Linked DNA regions of Homo sapiens: regions 2, 3, 4, 5 and 6 are each linked to region 1. Evidence: promoter capture Hi-C in human tissues and cell types (Jung and others, 2019). All regions are on one chromosome and are shown on one strand. Each heading gives the region's core, a stretch centred on a gene start or on the middle of the fragment in contact. The rest is flanking DNA. Distances are from core to core; before and after follow the strand shown.

Region 1 (3,321 bases), core at 348-2,847:
GTCTCTACTAAAAATACAAAAATTAGCCGGGCATGGTGGCATGTGCCTATAATCCCAGCTACTCAGGAGGCTGCGGCAGGAGAATCGCTTGAACTTGGGAGGCGGAGGTTGCAGTGAGCTGAGATCGCACCACTGCACTCCAGCCTGGGCGACAGAGTGAGACCCTGTCTCAAAAAAAAAAAAATTAAAAATTAAAGGCTCGACATCCTGCATCTCCCCAGGGTTGCCTTCTCTCCAGCCCCGGGGGCCCTGCAGTCCCTCCATCCCCCCTGCTGGATTCCTGTTGTCCCTCAGGGCCTTGATCAATGGCCCTCACTTCTCCTCTCTCCTCTGTCTCAGTGAGGATGAGGCTGGCCCATGGATCCTGCTCTCCGATGACAAGGGAGACCATCCCCCACCCCCGGAGTCCAAAATACAGAGTTTGTATGTTGGGGAAAGGGGAAAGGCAAGAGTGTGGGGAGGGAGGAAGGGCCCTGGCTGGTCCTTCTCAGGATCCCCTTTCCCGCTTCTCTGCCCGTCACCCTGCTGTGCTTGGCTCTAAGCACACCGTCCCCTCCTGCTTCTCTGGCCCTGGCCCCCATCACCTTCACACTCCCTCAGGCTGCCCTTTCTTCCCCCTCTCCCCTTTTCTCACCATCCCCTGCCCTCACCCATATCCTTGACCTCTCTGGCTTCCTGGCTCAAAGTGCCTCTGGCTGTCTCTCTCCAGCTTTGGCCTATGGTATCGGGGTAAAGCTGAATCCTCTGAGGATGAGACCAGCAGCCCTGCACCCAGCAAGCTAGGGGGAGAAGAGGAGGCCCAACCACAGTCTCCAGCTCCTGATCCGCCCTGTTCTGCCCTCCACGAACACCTTTGTCTGGGGGCCTCAGCCGCCCCAGAGGCCTGACTTAGGGGTCTGGCTGTGGAAGGATGTGTGGCCTCAAATGAGGACAGGGCTCCCGCCTTCACAGCCCTCGCCAGGGGTCTGCCCCAATCCTGGCCTGCATCAGGGCAGGACGGGGTCTCAGCCCGCCTCCCTCTCTACGTCTCTGTACCGAGCCTCTGGGGCCAGATATAAGAGTGCCTCTCTGAGTCTCAGTTTCCCCATCCATGAAATGAGAGCTGACTGCCTAGCTCCCAGGGCTTTGTGCAGACGGCCTGAGCTCATGTAATAAAGAACTGCCCGTAATACACAGAAACTGTTCCTCGCCTGTCTGTCCATGTCTGTGCCACCTCCCAACCCTGCCAGGAGCAGAGGCAGGCTGAGGGGTCCTCGCTGGTCTCCTTGCTCAGTCACTGGGTGGGGTGGCTTCTTGCAGCTCAGGCCTTGCTTTGGGAGTGTGGCCTGATGGAAAGCCGTGGCTCCCAGCCTCAGTCCACCCCCTTCCCTGGCCCCGGCACCCAGGGACCTGCAACTTCATTCTTCTGGCCCTTCCAGGCCCAGGCCAGTCAGCCCTGCCATTGCCTTTCTTTCCCTTTCTTTTTTTGAGTGTCAGTCTTTCCAGCCACCCCCTCCCTCTCAGGGAGGTGCCTCGTGGCAGCCCGCCCCTCCGGCCTGGTTTCCTCAGGAAAAGCCCTGAGAGGAAGCAGGGAGGGGGTTGGGAGCTGTGGGGGCCAGACGAACCCGAGCGCTCCCACCGAGCTGCCTGCCATGGGGCTGGGGCTGCTGCTCCCGCTGCTGCTGCTCTGGACTCGGGGGACTCAGGGGTCCGAGCTGGACCCCAAAGGGCAGCACGTCTGTGTGGCCAGCAGGTGGGTCTCGTGGGAGTCTGATGCGTGTGGCCAGCAGGTGGGTCTCGTGGGAGTCTGATGCGGGTGGCTGAACCGGTGTTGAGGCCGTTAGGGGAAGGAGGAGACTAGGAAGGGGGCTTAGGCTGAAAGGAAGGGACTGCTGATGGCGGTCTGGCAGGTAGTGGCCAGCCAGGGCAGATGGTGGAAGGGTCAGGGAAGGAGAGGGGAGGGGCTGGGGACCCTAGCTGTAAAGATCCATTAGGCCTCCCCAGGGGGCTAAGGCAGCCTCCCCCACTGCAGCCAGAGACAGTGATCCACCTTCCTCAGGGCCAGGCTGCACCCCCCACCATGTCCGGCTGACCCCTTTTTGCCCCACAGCCCCTCTGCTGAGCTGCAGTGCTGCGCAGGCTGGAGGCAGAAGGATCAAGAATGCACCATCCGTGAGTAGCCAGGACAGACCCTCAGCCAAGGAGAAGGGAGGCCGTAGCCCAGTGACAACCCTTCCTTCCTACCCCATGGGGCCTGCCCCTCCTGATACCAGGAGTCAGGGTTTCTCCTGTGACGCACCCCCAGGCCTGAAGGGGCACCTCTTGAGGAGGCATGGCCCCTGGAGCCAGTGAGAGGGCAGGGGTGTCCCCTGGTCCTGCTCCCGTCTTTCCAACCTGGGTGGGGTGTCTTTCAGCCATCTGTGAGGGGCCGGACGCCTGCCAGAAAGACGAGGTGTGTGTGAAGCCGGGCCTCTGTCGATGCAAGCCTGGATTCTTTGGGGCCCACTGCAGCTCCCGTGAGTCTCAAGGGCCAGATGAAGTTGCTGGGCAGAGCTGGGTACGGGGGCAGTGGTGTGGGAGCAGGCGAGGCAGGTAGCCATGCAGCCTCAGGACAGCAGGGCCAGAATCCCCCCCAGCTTCACTGAGGAATTGCGGTCCAGAGACAGGAAGTGACACACACTCCCGGGAGATGACCTGAGTCACCGGGTTTTTACCCACATCCACAAAGCACTGCCCACCTGAGCATCTTCCTCTTCCACTTCTCAGAAAACCTGTGATTCCCCTTCATTGTAAAATGAGTGTATTACTTGCCTTTCCCACATATACCTTATACATGGGCAGTGGATGGAAGGGGGCCCCTGGCTGGGCTCTCTGCCCTCTCTGGCAGAAAGAGAGGGAAGGGAAAGGGGTTGGGAAGCAGGAGAGCCAGAGGGTGGGCATCAGGAATCAAGGAATCACTAGGGGAAAGGTGGCTTCTCCCGACACCCTGGCGGGCAGTATCCAGGCCTGAGATCAGGAGAAAGCCAGCTCTCCTCCAGCCCAGCAGAGATCCATCTCGGCAGGGAGGAGCAGGCATGGAGGAAGGCCCACCAACCTCGGTGCCACGCTCTGGGCAAGTCCCCTGCCCACTCAGGATCTCTGAGTGTGTTCTGGAATGTGAAGTGGCAGGCTGAGCCTCCCACTAATGGCTAAGGGTTTTCTGTAGGTCAGAGCGGAGCAGGAAGTGAGTGTTGCCCAGGACAGGCTGCCGGATGTTCTGAGGGTCTGTCCCCGGCTCTTGGAGGATGGGCCCAGCGCCCCTTTTCCTTGAGGAAGGGGACGCAGGGTAAGGGTCTGCGCGCG
Region 2 (3,321 bases), core at 437-2,936, 450 kb after region 1:
CTACTCGGGAGGCTGAGGCAGGAGAATGGCATGAACCCGGGAGGCGGAGCTTGCGGTGAGCCAGGATCGCGCCACTGCACTCCAGCCTGGGCGACAGAGCAAGACTCCGTCTCAAAAAAAAAAAAAAAAGGAAGGTTGGATCTCCTGTAGCTTCCTGTGGTGCCGTCTTCTCCCAGGGACTCGAGCCTTGTTCAGAGCACTGACAGGATTTTTCAGAAAGTTCTGTGTGTGTGGCTGCTCTTTGGTAAGCCCAGGGCAACAGAGTCATCAACATTTAGGGAGGGGGTGGGTGAGGCAGGATGTAGAGTTAATACCCAGTTTTGTCCTATGTTCCTCTGAGAAGTTAGCTAAGAAATCTTTTCTAAATTAAATTTAATTAATTAATTTGTTTTTTGGGCCAGAGTTTTCACTCTTGTCACCCAGGCTGGAGTGCAGTGGTGTGATGTCAGCTCACTGTGACCTCCACCTCCTGGGTTCAAGTGATTCTCCTGCCTCAGCCTCCCGAGTAGCTGGGATTACAGGCACGTGCCACCATGCCCAGCTAATTTTTGTATTTGTAGTAGAAAGAGGGTTTCGCCATGTTGGCCAGGCTGGTCTTGAACTCCTGACCTCAGGTGATCCGCCTGCCTCGGCCTCCCAAAGTGCCGGGATTATAGGCGTGAGCCACCGCACCTTGCCTATTTTTTTTTTTTTTTTTGAGACAGAATCTCGCTCTGTTGCTCAGGCTGGAGTGCAGTGTCGTGATCTCGGCTCACTGCAACCTTCTCCTTCTTGGTTCAAGCGATCCTCGTGCCTCAGCCACCTGAGTACCTGGGATTACAGGCACCTGCTACCATGCCTGGCTAATTTTTGTATTTTTAGTAGAGATGGGGTTTTGCCATGTTGCCCAGGCTCGTCTCGCACTCCTGACCTCAAGTGATCCCTGACCTCAAGTGATCTCTCCCCACAATCCCAACTTGCCTTCCCAAAGTTCTGGGATTACAGGCGTGAGCCACCGCGCCGGCCAATAATTTTTTTTTTTTGAGACAGAGTCTCGCTCTGTTGCGCAGGCTGGAGTGCAGTGACACGATCTCGGCTCACTGCAACCTTTGCCTCCCGGGTTCACACCATTCTCCTGCCTCAGCCTCCTGTGTAGCTGGGACTACAGGCGCCCACCACCACGCCCGGCTAATTTGTTGTATTTTTAGTAGAGACGGGGTTTCACCGTGTTAGCCAGGATGGTCTCGATCTCCTGACCTCGTGATCCACCCGCCTCGGCCTCCCACAGTGCTGGGATGACAGGCGTGAGCCACTGCCCAGCCAATAATTTTCTTTAAAATGCTCCTTACGCTACTTGCTGAGCCTGGGTCAGGCAGGGCTGGGGGCTGCCTTTGGGAGAGAGATACACCAGAGACTAGTTAATCACTGTAGCAGTAGAAAACACCCTTAAGGGCCGGGCCTGATGGCTCACGCCTGTAATCCCAGCACTTGGAGAGGCCAAGGTGGGAGGATCCTTTGAGGCCAGGACTTTTTTTTTTTTTTGAGACAGTCTCATTCTGTCGCCCAGGCTGGAGTGCTGTGGCGCGATCTCCGCTCACTGCAAGCTCCGCCTTCCGGGTTCACGCCATTCTCCTGCCTCAGCCTCCCGAGTAGCTGGGACTACAGGCGCCCGCCACTGCGCCCGGCTAATTTTTTGTATTTTTAGTAGAGACGGGGTTTCACCGTGTTAGCCAGGATGGTCTCGATCTCCTGACCTCGTGATCCGCCCGCCTCGGCCTCCCAAAGTGCTGGGATTACAGGCGTGAGCCACCGCGCCTGGCCTGAGGCCAGGACTTCAAGAGCAGCCTGGGCAACATAGTGAGGTTCTGTCTGTACAAAATTAAAAAAAAAATTAGGGTCGGGCGCGGTGGCTCACACCTGTAATTCCAGCACTTTAGGAGGCCGAGGTGGGTGAATCACCTGAGTCAGGAGTTCGAGACCAGTCTGGCCAACATGGCGAAACCCTGTCTCTACTAAAAATACAAAATTTTTAGGGCATGGTGGCACATGCCTGTAATCCCAGCTACTAGGGGGGCTGAGGCAGGAGGATTGCTTGAACCCGGGAGGTGGAGGTTGCAGTGAGCTGAGACCGCACCACTGCACTCCAGCCTGGGCAACAGAGCGAGACTCCATCTTAAAAAAAAAAAAATTAGCTGGGTGTGGTGGTGCATGCCTGTAGTCCTAGCTATGCAAGAAGTTGAGGCAGGGGGATGGCTTGAGCCTGGGAGGTCGAGACTGTAGTGAGCTATGATTGCACCACTACACTCCAGTCTGGGCGATAGAGTGAGACTTGTCTCTAAAAAATAAAGAAGGCTGGGCGAAGTGTCTCACACCTGTAATCCCAGCACTTTGGGAAGACGAGGCAGGCAGATCACCTGAGGTCAGGAGTTGAGACCAGCATGGCCAACATGGTGAAACCCCTCTCTACTAAAAATACAAAACAAAACAAAAAAATAGCTGGGCGTGGTGGCGTGTACCTGTAATCTTAGCTACTTGGGAGGCTGAGGCAAGAGAATTACTTGAACCCGGGAGGCGGAGGTTGCAGTGAGCCAAGATCGTGCCATTGCACTCCAGCCTGGGCGACAGAGAGAGACTCTGTCTCAATCAATCAATCAAAATATAAATAAATAAAAAAAAACAAAGGAAACACCCTTGCCACCAGAGATCCTCCAGGTACAAACCTCATGTTCAAGGAGAAATCAAAAGACCCAGGAGCTTGTCAGATTTCAGTAGAGGAGAAAGAGGATGGAAATTCATCTTTGTGTCTTCCTTCCTCTGCCACTTCCCCTGGAGAGTAAGCTTTAAGAGCTGCAGTGGCCAGGCGCGGGGCTCACGCCTGTTATCCCAGCACTTTGAGAGGCCAAGGTGGGCAGATCACGAGGTCAGGAGATCAAAACCATCCTGGCTAACACGGTGAAACCCCGTCTCTATTAAAAATACAAAAAAAAAATTAGCTGGGCGTGGTGGCGGGTGCCTGTAGTCCCAGTTATTCAGGAGGCTGAGGCAGGTGAATCGCTTCAACCTGGGAGGCGGAGGATGCAGTGAGCCGAGATTGTGCCACTGCACTCCACACTCCAGCCTGGGGGACAGAGGGAGACTCTATCTCAAACATAAAAACACACAAACAAAAAGGGCTGCACTGATGTGCTTGAATTAGCGTCAGTTGCCAGTACTCCCTGGCGTGCTGGAAACCGAGCTCTTCCTGAGTGAATGTCGGGCGGCATCTGGTCAGGATGCTTTCCTGAAGCTTCAGGACTGGTGGCCAGGTACAATTGCTCTGGACCGAGCCAGACCCGAGTGAGA
Region 3 (3,321 bases), core at 450-2,949, 380 kb after region 1:
ACTGTGGCTGCTTCCAGGCAGCTCTGCAGGGAGGTCCAGAGACGGGGCTGACCCCATCCTTAGACTCCCAGGCCCCGTGACCCCTCTCCTGATATCCTCTTCCACCCCAGGGGACTCAGGGAGGAGGGGTCTCTGGATGTCTCTTTCCTCCCCTTGGGCTCCCACAGTGCTCAGCCACACCTGGGGTCTTGCCATGAATGAGTTCCCCCAGGCGCCTACCTGTGGGCCTTAGGCCCCGCCCAGCATTCCAAGGAGAGCCCCCAGCCCTCAGGCGTTCCTGCCACCCTGGGCCACGGGGCCCACTGGAGTCGTGGTATCGGAGAGAAATGAGTTTTTCCTTTTATTTGGCTGCTGCCCCTGCCTGCCTCTCCCGGATCCTGCCTCTCCCGGATCAGGCTTGGGCAGCAGCGCAGGCAGGGAAGGGGACTCCGCACTCATGTGCCCACGAGACCACAGCAGGCCCCACCCGCATTCCCACGCTCCCACACCTCCTGCCTCAAAGCCCTCACTCTCCTAAAAGCATCGAGAACACACAGGGCTCGGAGGCGCAGGAGTGCGAAGGCGGCATTCCAAGACGAGTTCGAGTCCAAGATGAGTTCAGGATCCTGAGCCTTTCTGGCAACTGCCTCCCTAGGCTGGGATGTGGGGGCGCAGCCCCAGGCCCCGGAGCTCCTTCTCTCTGCCCCAGGCTGGGATGTGGGGGCGCAACCCCGGGTCCCGGAGCTCCTTCTCTCTGGCGAGCTCCTTCTCTTCCACGCCAGGTCTCAGCCGGTCCAGTTCTGCTCTGTCCAAGACGCCTTTGCAGTCCCGGGTTTTATAGTCCAGCTGCCAGCCCGGCCTCCCTGCAGCCCAGCCGGTGCCTCGAGGCCGGTCAGGAGCGCGGATGGCCCATCCCGGGGGCGGATCGCAGGTAGCCCCGCGGCCAGGGAGGCGGCCCGGCAGAGGAAGCCCCCGGACAGCGGCGCCAGCTTCCCCCGGAGGCCTGTGCTAGGCCCGGCCCCTCGGCCACCGCACTGGGCCGTGCCAGGGGCGCGTGCGGGGGGCACGAGGCGCAGCGGGGCGCGGACGGCACCGAGGGGCGGGCGGCGTCTGGGCGCGCGAGGCTGGGCCCTGCAGGCGGCGGGGGGCTGGCGCCTGTGTCCCCGGTGTCCCCGCGCGCGGCCGGGCCGTGGCACTCCAGGTGTCCGCAGGGCCCGCGGGGCGCGGGGCTGGCGCGCAGGACCAGGGAGAGCGCGGCGATGCGGTGGATGGCCCTGCGCAGCGTGGCGATCTTGGAGAGCCTCTTGCCGCCCAGGTCGTGCCGCAGCGCCCGGCGCAGCGCGTTGAAGGCCTCGTTGTAGTCTAGGATGCGCTTGCGCTCCCGCACGTTGGCGGCCATGCGCCGCGCCTTGGACCGCACCGGCCGCGCGCGCCTCCTGCCCGCCGGCTCCTCCGCCTCGCCCCGGCTGCAGGAAGCGCCGTTCGCCCCCAGCACCCCCGAATCGCCCCCGGGCTCGGGGCAGGGGCCCCCCAAGTCCTCCGCAGAGTCCTCGGCCCCCTTCCGCGCCGTGAGGCCTAGTCCTGGCGCGCCCCGCAGCATGGCCTTCCCGGGCACTCGCCCTCTGCCCCAGCCCCGGCCCTCTGCCCTCTGCCCTCTGCCCACTGCCTTGGCCCGGCTCGCGACGCGGACGGTCCCCGGCTCCTGGGGCTGGACACTCCCGAGACAGGCCCCTTCCAGCTGGGCTTTATGGCACCACGCGGCGCCCCGCCCTCCCGTCCATCCATCTCCCTCCTCCTGCTTTATTATCGGCCTCCAGGTAGGTCGGCGGGGGAGGAACCGAGGGGAAGAAGGAAAGCAAGGAGGGAAGCTTGCAGGTTCTTGTAAGCGGGGACCAGACGGGCAGCCCGGCCACGCTGCCCCGGGGACCTTGCCCTGCCTAGCTCTGGGGCCGCTGTGGGGTGTCTGGGTTCCACATTCTTCCTCCCCATTCCCAGATAAGGTGCTAAGTTTGGCTTCTAGCAGGAGAGCTGATAGGAATAAAAAGAGGCAGAGGGCCGGGCACTGGGGCTCACGCCTGTCATCCCAGCAGTTTGGGAGGCCGAGGCGGGCGGATCACTTGAGTTCAGGAGTTCGAGACCAGCCTGGCCAACAGAGTATATAAAACCCCGTCTACTAAAAACACAAAAATTAGCCGGGCGTGGTGGCAGGCGCCTGTAATCCCAGTTACTCGGGAGGCTGAGGCAGGAGAATGGCTTGAGCCCAGGAGCTGGAGGTTGCAGTGAGCCGAGATCGCACCACTGCACTCTAGCCTGGGAGACAGAACGAGACTCCGTCTCAGAAAAACAACAACAAAAACAACAACAAAACCTTGAAAGTTCTTGTCAAGTCCCGTGGGCAACCACAGAGATGTCACTGAGGAAAAGCATGAGTGTCCCGGCAGGACTCATATGGGAGGCGCAGGGCCCTGCAGGTAAAGCTGACCCAGAGCTTCCGGCTTTTTCAGCTATGGAGGGCGGCTGGCTGCAATTGGGGTTCGGGTTTTGGTTGGGCCTGACTCTCCCTCCACTGCCCTTTGACTCCCCTTCTGCAGGCAGAGCTGGGATGAGTCAGCAGCAGAGGGTGACGGGGAAGATCCCTTTGCAGCCCTGGGTCCACATCAGGGGCATCTTTGGGGTCCAGAGCCCTCGGGCAGCCCCATCTTGTGACACAGCCCTGCCAGGTTATGAACTCAATGAGCAGCCTCTGTCCTCTTCCCCCAGGGATTTGCATTTGAAAGAGGGTCTCAGAAAAAAGATGATGTTTATTCCCAAAGAAAGACCCCCAGTAGAATTTCCGGCATCCACAGCTGAGTTATTTGGAGCGCCTGAAGGCCACTCATTCCCAGTCACAATCCAAATGCCTCTAAGATGCCAAGGCCTATGGCATTGGAATGGGTGTGTGGTTCACATCCATCTCGCCAAAAGAGCATTGCCAATAACCCCATTATTTCAAACTGTGAATTTCTCCATAAAAGAAAATAATAAGGCATTAGGAAGCAGAGTGTATGTATTTACTTCTGTGATTGTCTGCCTTGCCCACTAGGATGAAAGCATCCTAAGGACATCTGTATTTCCCAGGTTCTATGTCCCCCAAATCTGCAATATATGTCGAATTATAAAACAGCTAGAGGCCGGGCGCAGTGGCTCACGCCTGTAATCCCAGTACTTTGGGAGGCCGAGGTGGGCGGATCACTTGAGGTCAGGAGTTCAAGACCAGCCTGGCCAACACGGTGAAACCCCGTCTCTACTAAAATACAACAATTAGCTGGACGTGGTGGCGGGGAGCCTGTAGTCCCAGCTACT
Region 4 (3,321 bases), core at 477-2,976, 300 kb after region 1:
TTACAGGCGTGAGCCACTGTTCCCGGCCTACATTTTTTAATAAATTGGTTTTGAAACTGCAATGGTGCCTGCCTGTAATCTCGGCTGTTCAGCAAGGTGAGGCAGAAGGATCACTTGAGCCCAGGAGTTTGACACCAGCTTGGGCAAGATAAAACTTCATCTCACAAAATAAAATACTACTTTTGTGACTTGGGTTCCGTGGTGAATATAGGAGAATCGTCATGAAAGTGGCAGTTTACTAGGATGTGACTTTGCATTTAGTTTAAGGATTATTTAGATTTTTTTGTTTTTTAAAGAGACGGTATTTATGTCTTTTAATTTTAGAATATGTTAATGTCTGTCCCAGCATGTTGGAACATAATTTCTTTAAAGGGAGGGATCATTGCTTTTTCTCAAGTGATTTTAGTCTCTTCACCCTGTGGTAAGAGGATTGTTTCATATACGAATCCATAGGTAGGAAATACATGTTCTCCCTGCCTGTTCCCCTCTCTCCAAAATGTAGATACACTGGGCAAAGAAACATAGCCAAGGAATCCTTTTTCCCCTAATATCTGTATGTCTTTCAAGAGGATATTACTTCCTTCTCAGAGTAGAAGGGAGGAGGAGTAGACAGATTGTTGCTTAGAGTGAAGTTTACACGAAGTAAGACCAAAGTCCGGCTCCTGTATCATTGTTTTCCTTTGTCCTGCTCTGTTGGTTTATTTTTCTTGTAATGTTGCTTTCATATGATTGTTCTCCCTCCCTTTTTCCTTGCAATATAGATTCCTAAAGGAAAACCCAACTCTTCCTTTCCTAAAAACTCTACTTTGTAAGTCACGTTCATGGCACAGTGAATTCCGCTTTCAGTTTTGGTTCTTCACTAATCATGCCTGCGTATGATCGTCCTGTTGCTTACAGACTCTGCCTGTTCCACCTTCCAGGGCGCTGACCTAAGCCTTTTCCGGCCTGCTCCTCCTGCCTACTGTGGTTGGATGTGATGTATATGACAGTGACATTTTTATGCCAAAGTTACTTGGAACTTCTGGCACATCTCATGGTTGCTTACAAGCGAGTTGTGTTCTAGTGTTTGTGTTAATGATACTTTGGCAGTGATTTGCTGTTAGAGTGAATGTTCCTATCATGTTTCCTACGTTTGAATACGTTATTGTCCTTTGGAGAACAGTTGGGTGCCCATCAGTTCTTTCATCCCTAAGCAATTTTTTTTTGCCTTTGCATATTTTTTTTCTGTCTTATGAATTAAAGATCTTCATGTATTTTAAGTAGTTTTAAAATTTTATACATTTTTTTGAGACGGAGTTTTGCTCTTGTTGCCCCGCCTGGAGTGCAGTGGCGTTCAAAGCTCACTGCAGAAATAGAACTCCCCCACCTCAGCCCCCCAAGTAGCTGGGACTATAGACATGTGGCCCCATGCCCAGCGTATGTAGTTTTTTTTTTTTTTGAGACGGAGTCTCGATTGTCGCCCAGGCTGGAGTGCAGCGGCAGAATCTTGGCTCACTGAAAGCTCCGCCTCCTGGGTTCACGCCATTCTCCTGCCTCCCGAGTAGCTGGGACTACAGGCGCCTGCCACCATGCCTGGCTAATTTTTTTTTTTTTTTTTTGTATTTTTAGTAGAGACAGGGTTTCACTGTGTTAGCCAGGATGGTCTCGATCTCCTGACCTCATGATCCACCTCTCTTGGCCTCCCAAAGTGCTGGTATTACAGGCGTGAGCCACCATGCCTGGCTCCAGCATACATAGTTTTTTACTTTTAGTTTTATTTATTCTTTTTTTTTTTTTTTTGAGACGGAGTCTCACTCTGTTACCCAGGCTGGAGTGTAGTGGCATGTTCTTGGCTCGCTGCAACCTCCGTCTCCTGGGTTCAAGCAATTCTCATGCCTCAGCTTCCCAGGTAGCTGGGATTACAGGCATGTGCCACCACGCCAGGCTAATTTTTTGTATTATTTTTTCAGTAGAGATGGGGATTTACTGTGTTAGCCAGGATGGTCTTGATCTTCTGACCTCGTGATCCGCCCGCCTTTGCTTCCCAAAGTGCTGGGATTACAGGCGTGAGCCACCGTGCCCGGCGTTATGTTCATTTTTTGTAGAGACAGGGCTTCACTGTGTTGCTGAGGCTGTAAGTGGGTTTTGAAGTCACACAGCAATGTCAAGCGTTTCCGCCGCAGAAGAGATTTGAAAACTACTGAAACCTTGATGCTGTGACATTTGTCATTTTGAGATCATTTAGGCTGTTTCAAAGCTGTACTCAGTGTAAATGCTTCATGTGTGTAGGCAGCTAGTTTGGTGTTATTTGTCCATCCTAATTAAATAATTTAACAAGCATTATGAATGGATAGTCATTTGAACATTTATGATTCTTGGGTTGATTTTTCATTTATTTTGTTTCAAACTAGTTAACTGTGTAGTAATTGTAAGTGGTTTTTTTAAAAAAGTACAAGTGAATGTAACTTTTACCTGTTACATCATTTTTAAGGGAAAAGCCTGCATGCTTCTTTATTTTGGCTGACTTGTTTAATGCATACTAATAGGTAGATGACCCTCCAACCAATAGGTGGCTTTCTGTTGCATGTCATAGTGCAGTTGAAACTCCTTAGGGTAATCACCCTCTTTAAAGGCAAAAGACAAATAGCATGAGTGAAGTGGTCCAAATGCCATTCTTTAATAACCTCAGTGGTCTGATTTACTTTGAGCATGCTGTGTTTCACTCTGAAGTAAAATCTGATTATAGTTTGGTGTATCTGGCCAAGATACAAAAGCTGAAATATTTATAACAGCAGAACCCCACAATAAAATACGATAGAACTTCTTGGCAACAGTTTATTGCTCAGTTAACTATTTTGAAGCATTTCTGATAATTAGCTTGTGGGTAAATTAGATTTTGCAAAAAGTTTGCAAAATACTCTTGATTCTTGAAGAGGTGAGGTTATTGAGAAAGAGTATTTTGACCCAAGATTTATGTGAAAGCTTGAATGTCATTTTAGTAAGATGGTTTCCTTGGCTGTCTACGTCAAGAGCTTATTTAGCGTAAAAACATTGAGTTGTACTGCGCATCAGTTTTTTTCATTCTGTTGACCAATAAATACTTTCAGGACCATAATCCCTTCTTGGCTTAGGCATCTCAGGTGTCAAGGATGATAGAAGTCCTTTGCCTGCGTTTAATACCAATTGTAGCAAGTAGAAGAGTCTTTATGCTTGGAATGACACCTTTGTTTGTGGCTGCCATAGCCTAATGTAGTCAATACGAAATAATTGACTTTTTTTCTTTTTTAACAGGTGAAGAGCAGAATAAAGAAGCGCTGCAGGACGTGGAAGACGAAAATCAGT
Region 5 (3,321 bases), core at 295-2,794, 280 kb before region 1:
TGGCCCAGCTACAAAAACAAAACAAAACAAAACAAAACAACACACAGGGCTGGGTGCGGTGGCTCACGCCTGTAATTCAAGTACTTTAGGAGGCTGAGGCAGGGGGATCACTTGAGTCCATAAGTTTGTGACCAGCCTGAACAACATAGACGGTCCAGCTACAAAAAAAAAAAAGAAAATAGGCTGGGCACAATGGCTCACGCCTGTAATCCCAGCACTTTGGGAGGCTGAGGCAGGTGGATCACGTGAGGTCAGGAGTTCGAGACCAGCCTGATCAACATGGAGAAACCCTGTCTCTACTAAAAATAAAAATAAAAATAAAAAAAAATCAGCCGGGTGTGGTGGCGCATGCCTGTCATCCCAGCTACTCGGGAGGCTGAGGCAGGAGAATCGCTTGAACCTGGGAGGCAGAGGTTGCGGTGAGCCAAGATCGTGTCATTGCATTCCAGCCTGGTCAACAAAAAGCGAAACTCTGTCTCAAAAAAATAATAATAATAAAATAAAATAAAAAATAAATTAGCCAGGCACGGTGGCATGTGCCTGTGGTCCCAGGTACCCAGGAGGCTGAGGTGGGAGAATCACTTGAGCCCAGGGGTTCAAGGGTGCAGTGAACTGTGATTGTGCCGCTGTACTCCAGCCTGAGTGACTGAGTTAGACCCTGTCTCAAAAAAAAAAAAAAAAAAAAATTAGCTGGGTCTGGTGACAGTTTTAGGCCTCTTCTCAAGAGCTTTTGTGAATCCCGGGACTGTCCTTGGAATTTATATTTTCTTTTCACTGTTTTTGCTCATTTGAAAAATTGTCTCAAAATTTTCATGTTAATTTCAATCAAATATGTCTACTTTTCTTATTTGGAATATTTTCATGGATTTTAATATTTTGTTTCCAATTTTAAATGGTCTAATAGCAAATTGGCTTAAAAACTGAACGGGCAACCACTAATTCATATATCAATTTATCCTAGGTGATACTACAACATTTTACAATGTGTCTTAGTTTTTTTCTTTTTATTTGGAAATACTTACAGGTTCACAGGAAACTGAAAAAAAGAAAGCAGCAGGGAGGTCCTGGAGCCCTTTCACCCAGTTTCCCTCAATGGTAATATTTTGCGTAACTCCCTGTTAATTCACCATAAAAAAAATATATTTTGGGCCGGGTGCGGTGGCTCAGGCCTGTAATCCTAGCATGTTGGGAGGCTGAGGCGGGCAGATCACGAGGTCAAGAGATGGAGACCATCCTGGCTAACACGGTGAAACCCCGTCTCTACTAAAAATACAAAAATTAGAGCCAGGCGTGATGGCGGGCGCCTGTAGTCCCAGCTCATCGGGAGGCTGAGGCAGGAGAATGGCTTGAACCCTGGAGGCAGAGCTTGCAGTGAGCCGAGATCGAGCCACTGCACTCCAGCCTGGGCGACAGAGTAAGTCTCCATCAAAAAAAAAAAAAAAACTGGGCCTTTTCATCTCAGAAGTTCCTTCTCTCTCACTAGAGAGAGAGCTGTTTACCTTTCTCCTTTCTCTTTCTTTTGCCTATTAAACCTCTGCTCCAAATATATATATATATATATATATATATATATATATATATATATATATATATATATTTTTCAGTTAGTGATATTAATTTTACCTATTTGGGTAAAGTTTCCACATATTCAAACAACTTTGATAAGGAAAAAAATAAAGCTTCCAACAGGGACAAGGAAGGAATAGTCCTTTTCTTTTTTTCTTGGATATTTATGAATGAAATTTTAGGATTTTAAATGTCATTATATCATTGAACTGAGAAGTGGAAAATGAGAAGTGTTTGTCCAGATGCAGGATTATTGGCCAGAGTCCCCCTAACAAGTTTGGGGAGATGAAGGAGGTGTTCACAAACCTCCTGGAATTCAATGCAGGGCCCCTGGAATGTGCAGGTTTCCAGAGAGAGCTTTCTTTCTCTTTCTGTTTTTTTTTTTTGAGAGGTAGTTTCACTCTGTCGCCCAGGCTGGTGTGCAGTGGCCGGATCTCGGCTCACTGCAAGCTCTGCCTCCTGGGTTCACACCATTCTCCTGACTCAGCCTCCCGAGTAGCTGGGACTACAGGCGCCCGCCACCACACCTGGCTAATTTTTTTGTATTTTTAGTAGAGACGGGGTTTCACCGTGTTAGCCAGGATGGTCTCATCTCCTGACCTCGTGATCCACCTGCCTCGGCCTCCCAAAGTGCTGGGATTACAGCTGTGAGCCACCGCGCCCGGCCAGAGAGAGCTTTCTTTTTCTTTTTCTTTTCTTTTTCTTTTTTTTTTGAGACACAGTCTTGCTCTGTTGCCCAGGCTGGAGTGCAGTGCCACGATCTCGGCTCACTGCAACCTCCACCTCCTGGGTCCAAGTGAGTCTCCTGCCTCAGCCTCCTGAGTAGCTGGGACTACAGGCGCCCACTACCACACCCAGCTAATTTTTTGTGTTTTTAGTAGAGACGGGGTTTCACCATGTTAGCCAGGATGGTCTCGATCTCCTGACCTCGTGATCCGCCCCTCGGCCTCCCAAAATGCTGAGATTACAGGCGTGAGCCACTGCGCCCAGCCAAAAGCAGATGGAGTCTCACTCTGTTGCCCAGGCTGGAGTACAATGGCACCATCTCGGCTCACTGCAGCCTCCACCTCCCGGGTTCAACTGATTCTCCTGCCTCAGCCTCCCAAGTAGCTGGGATTACAGGCGCCCATCACCACGCTTGGCTAATTTTTGTATTTTTAGTAGAGGCAGGCTTTCACCATGTTGGCCAGGCTGGTCTCAAACTCCTGACCTCAGGTGATCCACCCGCCTCGACCTCCTAAAGTGCTGGGATTACAGGCATGAGCCACCGCGCCTGGCCTTTTTTTTTTTCTTTTAATTAATAAATAAATTAATTTATATTTTTGGGACAGGGTCTTCCTCTGTTGCCCAGGCTGGTCTCAAACTCCTGGGCTCAAGCGAACCTCCTGCCTCAGCCTCCTGAGTAGCTGGGCCCACAGGTGCAGGCCAGCACGGCCTTTTCATCAGATCCTGAAAAAGGCTAAGAACTGGCCCGGACTCCTTCGTTTCACCCTCAGCGGCTCCTCCGCAACGCCGCCTCCCACCTGGCATGTAGGTGGCACTCCGCCTGGGGATGACGAGTCCTTGGCAGAACCGGCTTGTGGAACAGCCAAGGCTGCGGCGGAAATAGTCGCTCTTGACCAGTTTGTCCTTTTGACCAATTTGGTTTCGACCCAATCGTCTACTCCTCCACTCTGTCACACAAGGAAAACGGGGCGGGGGTGGTGGGGGAAAGGATGGAGCGGCTGGTTCCAGAAGACGCCAGCAACGGAATTT
Region 6 (3,321 bases), core at 560-3,059, 270 kb after region 1:
CTCAAGCGATCTTCCTGTCTCAGCTTCTGGAGTAGCTGGGACTGACTACAGGTGTGAGCCACATTTCCGGTTCTGACAGAACCTTTTTATGTCAGTGCCTGATGCTGTGCCCTTTTCTTCCCTTGGTGTGATTGCTTTTACTGTTCTTGGGCTAAGGAATTTGTTTCTGTGAGCACTCTGGTTGCAAAGTCATTGAAGTGTGATGGCTAAAAGCTCAGACTCTTAAGTTAGATTGTCTGGGTTTGAGTTTGGGTTTTACCATTGTGTGACTTTAGGAACATTACTCTTAGCTTCATTTTTCTGCCCTTAAAATCAGGATTAGGGCCGGGTGTGGTAACCCCTGCCTGTAATCCCACCACCTAGGGAGGCCGAGGCAGGTGGATCACCTGAGGTCAGGAGTTCGAAACCAGTCTGGCCAACATGGTGAAACCCTGTCTTTACTAAAAATATAAAAATTAGCCGTGCACGTTGGCGGGCACCTGTAGTCCTAACTACCAGGGAGGCTGGGGCAAGAGCATCACTTGAACATGGGAGATGGAGGTTGCAGTGAGATTGCACTTCAGCCTGGGCAACAGAGCTAGACTCTGTCTCAAAAAAAAAAAAAAAAGTTAGGGTTATGACCCTGTGTGCTTTGGTAAGAGGAACATTAATCCTGTCAGCCAGTACAGAACCTGCTCGTTTTTCCCATGGCAGATTCTGAACAGTTTGCTTTTTTCCTGACCCTGAATTTCATTAGGAGCTGTAAATTGTGCCTTGTGACTTGTCAGCCTGATAGTTGGAGACCTGCTCCTTTTATGATTTTGTACTTTGTGTTTATCAGAAACTGTTGAAGCTCAGCAGAGACTTGTTTTACTACCTGGCAAGGACAGTCTTGGGAAAATCAGGTTTACTGGGATGTTGATGTAAAGATATTAGAGGTATGAAACTAAGCTTTTTGTATTCAGGAGGCTGAGGTGGGAGGATTGCTTGAGCCCAGGAGTTGGAGACCAGCCTGGGCAACATACAAAGACTCCCGTCTCTTTAAGAGAAAAGAATAAAGTAAGCTTTTTTTGGGAGAGGGGTGAACCTCTAGGTGGAAAAAGAAATGCGTTTTAAGCAGGAGTGAACTTCTTTCCTTCTTTTCTTTTCTTTCTTTCTCTCTCTTTCTTTTTCTTTCTTTCTGTCTGTCTGTCTGTCTTTCTTGTCTTTCTGTCTGTCTTTCTGTCTTCGTTCTTTCTCTCATGGTGGCAGACGCCACCATGCCTGGGTCTCAACCACATTTTAGTATGTGAAACTTGTTTCTCTGGTAGAGTCACTGAAACCAGTTATTTCCCCTCTATTGTCACAGAAGCAAACAAAAGGATCCTCGTACAGATGCATTCAAATAAATATTCAAATCTGAGGCAATATGATTAAATCAAAGCACAACTCAAGTCAGATTCCCTGAGTTGTAGTCCACTGGCTTTGTGATCTGGAACAAGTTTAACCTTCGTGTTCTTCAGTATATGGAGATATTCTAAAATGGGATAATACTGGTACCCACTTCAGAGGTCTGTTGAGAAGATTAAGCACATTAATACAGCGAAGCATTTGGAACAGTGCCTATTTTAGCATGGGGGGTTTTATTTGTGAATAAGTCTGTTGAATGAACAACATAGTTGAAATGGGGTGTTTTATTTATGAATTAGTCTGTTGAATGAACAACATAGTTGAAAGAACACAACCACAAACCAAACCTCAGTTAACAAGTCAAGGGGAAAAACTTGTGACTCTACTGGCAGCAGCAGATGATGGGTGTCCCAGACACAAGCTGGTTCCATGTGGTGGATCTGTGTCTAGGCTATTACCATACAATGAAGGGAAACTTACTTGGAACTAAAGAGACTTAACTATGTTTAATTAACTTGTGAGGAGTATGTTTTTCAGAGTGGCGATTTTAATCACCCACCCTTGTCCCCAAACCATGAAAAGTCCCAGAAATTCGATTTTGTTACTCAAAATTACTGTAGCAAAACTGCCCGTGGATCCAAAAGAAGTGATTTCAACCATTTCAGTTTTTTGGTTCTTAAATTGCGATCCCACCTGCTGCAAACACATGACAGCCTTCCCCCACCCGTGAAATGCCCACATCCCACTGATAAAATACTTGCCGCAAAGGTGATTTCAGGAAATGCTAGTTGTGTTGAGGGCCTTTATGTGAATATAATGGTTGGAGTTCATCCTCTACTGAGGGAGGGCTGAAGGGTGTAGTTAGTCTAGAGTTTTGGATAAATCAGCTTTTCTTATATAGTTTTGGGGTACATTATCATTAGTATTATGTTTCTGTTGCTGGTGTTAAAAGGATAAAGATGACAGTGATATTGGAAGAGAGTGTCATTGTAGTCGTTATTTGTACAAACTGGTACAAAGCACTGGTCGTAGAATGTTTGGAGAGATTGAGAAGTTGACTTTCCATACTCTTGAAGGAGTGATGTGCTTGGTAGTGTGCACCTATAGTCCCAGTTACTTGGGAGGCTGAGGTGGGAGGATCACTCGAGGCCAGGAGTTTAAGGCTACATAGTGCGCTGTGATCATGGGCCTGTGAATAGCCACTGCACGACATACAGTCAGGGCAACGTAGTGAGACCCTGTCTCTTGAAGCAATAGAAGTGTCTCCTGACTCAATGCTACTTCTGTTCCTTAATCTGCTACCTTAAGGGATGCAGAGGGGGTTGGGGGAATTAAGAGGAGTCAGTGGGGTTTTAAAAATGAACAACTCCTACATACCAATAATGAAAAGACAAATAATTAAATATTTGGCAAAGTGTTTGAATAGATATTTCTCCAGAGAACATACGCAAAAGGCTCATAAGCACATGAAAAGGTGTTCAACACTATTAGTTATCAAGGAAATGCAAATCAAAACCACAAAGAGATACAGCTTCACACCCACTAGGATGACTAGTTTAAAGAATAACTAACAAGTGTTCCTGAGGACGTGGCCAGATTAGAATCCTGTGTTGCTGGTGGGAGTGTAAAAACGGTGCCGCTCCTGTAGAAAAGTTTGGGATGTCCTTCCTCAAAAAGCTAGTTACCATGTGATCCTGAAGTTCCTTCTAGGTGTATACTGAAGTGAACTGAAAGCATTTATTCATACAAAAACTTAAAGAACGTTCGTAGCAGCATTGTTTATAATAGTCCAAAAATGGAAACAACCCAAATGTTCATTAACTAACGAATGGATTTTTTTTTTTTTTTCCTGAGACCAAGTCTCGCTCTGTTGCCAGGCTGGAGTTCAGTGGCACGATCTCGGGTCACTGCAACCTCCGCCTCCCGTGTTCAAGCAGTTGTCCTGCTTCAGCC

Evidence for each region. Contacts are between HindIII fragments. The study calls those that stand out against the background at their distance.
Region 2: a fragment that was not itself captured here is called in contact with the fragment with the promoter of SCARF1 in region 1 in 1 of the 25 tissues and cell types used here (pancreas).
Region 3: the fragment with the promoter of BHLHA9 here is called in contact with the fragment with the promoter of SCARF1 in region 1 in 1 of the 25 tissues and cell types used here (lymphoblastoid cells).
Region 4: a fragment that was not itself captured here is called in contact with the fragment with the promoter of SCARF1 in region 1 in 1 of the 25 tissues and cell types used here (lymphoblastoid cells).
Region 5: a contact is called between a fragment that was not itself captured here and the fragment with the promoter of SCARF1 in region 1, in 1 of the 25 tissues and cell types used here (bladder).
Region 6: a fragment that was not itself captured here is called in contact with the fragment with the promoter of SCARF1 in region 1 in 1 of the 25 tissues and cell types used here (lymphoblastoid cells).

The regions. Positions count from the first base shown.
Region 1 is chr17:1,644,008-1,647,328 of GRCh38, reverse strand. SCARF1 (scavenger receptor class F member 1) reads left to right here and starts at 1,597. Exons shown (of 11, transcript NM_003693.4): 1 at 1,597-1,732; 2 at 2,090-2,151; 3 at 2,394-2,495. The coding sequence starts at 1,632. It overlaps RILP (Rab interacting lysosomal protein), which reads left to right. Exons shown (of 8, transcript NM_031430.3): 7 at 340-423; 8 at 710-1,179. The coding sequence ends at 887. The HindIII fragment of the contact is 19,188 bases long and covers 1-3,321 here.
Region 2 is chr17:1,193,505-1,196,825 of GRCh38, reverse strand. It overlaps a transcript of ABR not described here. Among named protein-coding and RNA genes, the nearest start is that of ABR-AS1, 14 kb to the right of the region's middle. The HindIII fragment of the contact is 6,525 bases long and covers 1-3,321 here.
Region 3 is chr17:1,268,822-1,272,142 of GRCh38, reverse strand. BHLHA9 (basic helix-loop-helix family member a9) reads right to left here and starts at 1,699. Exons shown (of 1, transcript NM_001164405.2): 1 at 328-1,699. The coding sequence starts at 1,579. The coding sequence ends at 872. RefSeq lists enhancers at 547-1,297, 2,902-3,321. The HindIII fragment of the contact is 29,201 bases long and covers 1-3,207 here.
Region 4 is chr17:1,345,449-1,348,769 of GRCh38, reverse strand. YWHAE (tyrosine 3-monooxygenase/tryptophan 5-monooxygenase activation protein epsilon) reads left to right here. Exons shown (of 6, transcript NM_006761.5): 6 at 3,271-3,321. Among named protein-coding and RNA genes, the nearest start is that of YWHAE, 53 kb to the left of the region's middle. RefSeq lists an enhancer at 761-1,055. The HindIII fragment of the contact is 6,466 bases long and covers 1-3,321 here.
Region 5 is chr17:1,921,060-1,924,380 of GRCh38, reverse strand. No RefSeq gene overlaps it. Among named protein-coding and RNA genes, the nearest start is that of RPA1, 93 kb to the right of the region's middle. RefSeq lists a silencer at 2,086-2,268. The HindIII fragment of the contact is 9,514 bases long and covers 1-3,321 here.
Region 6 is chr17:1,374,215-1,377,535 of GRCh38, reverse strand. The region is part of intron 1 of YWHAE (tyrosine 3-monooxygenase/tryptophan 5-monooxygenase activation protein epsilon); the gene reads left to right. Among named protein-coding and RNA genes, the nearest start is that of YWHAE, 24 kb to the left of the region's middle. The HindIII fragment of the contact is 3,515 bases long and covers 52-3,321 here.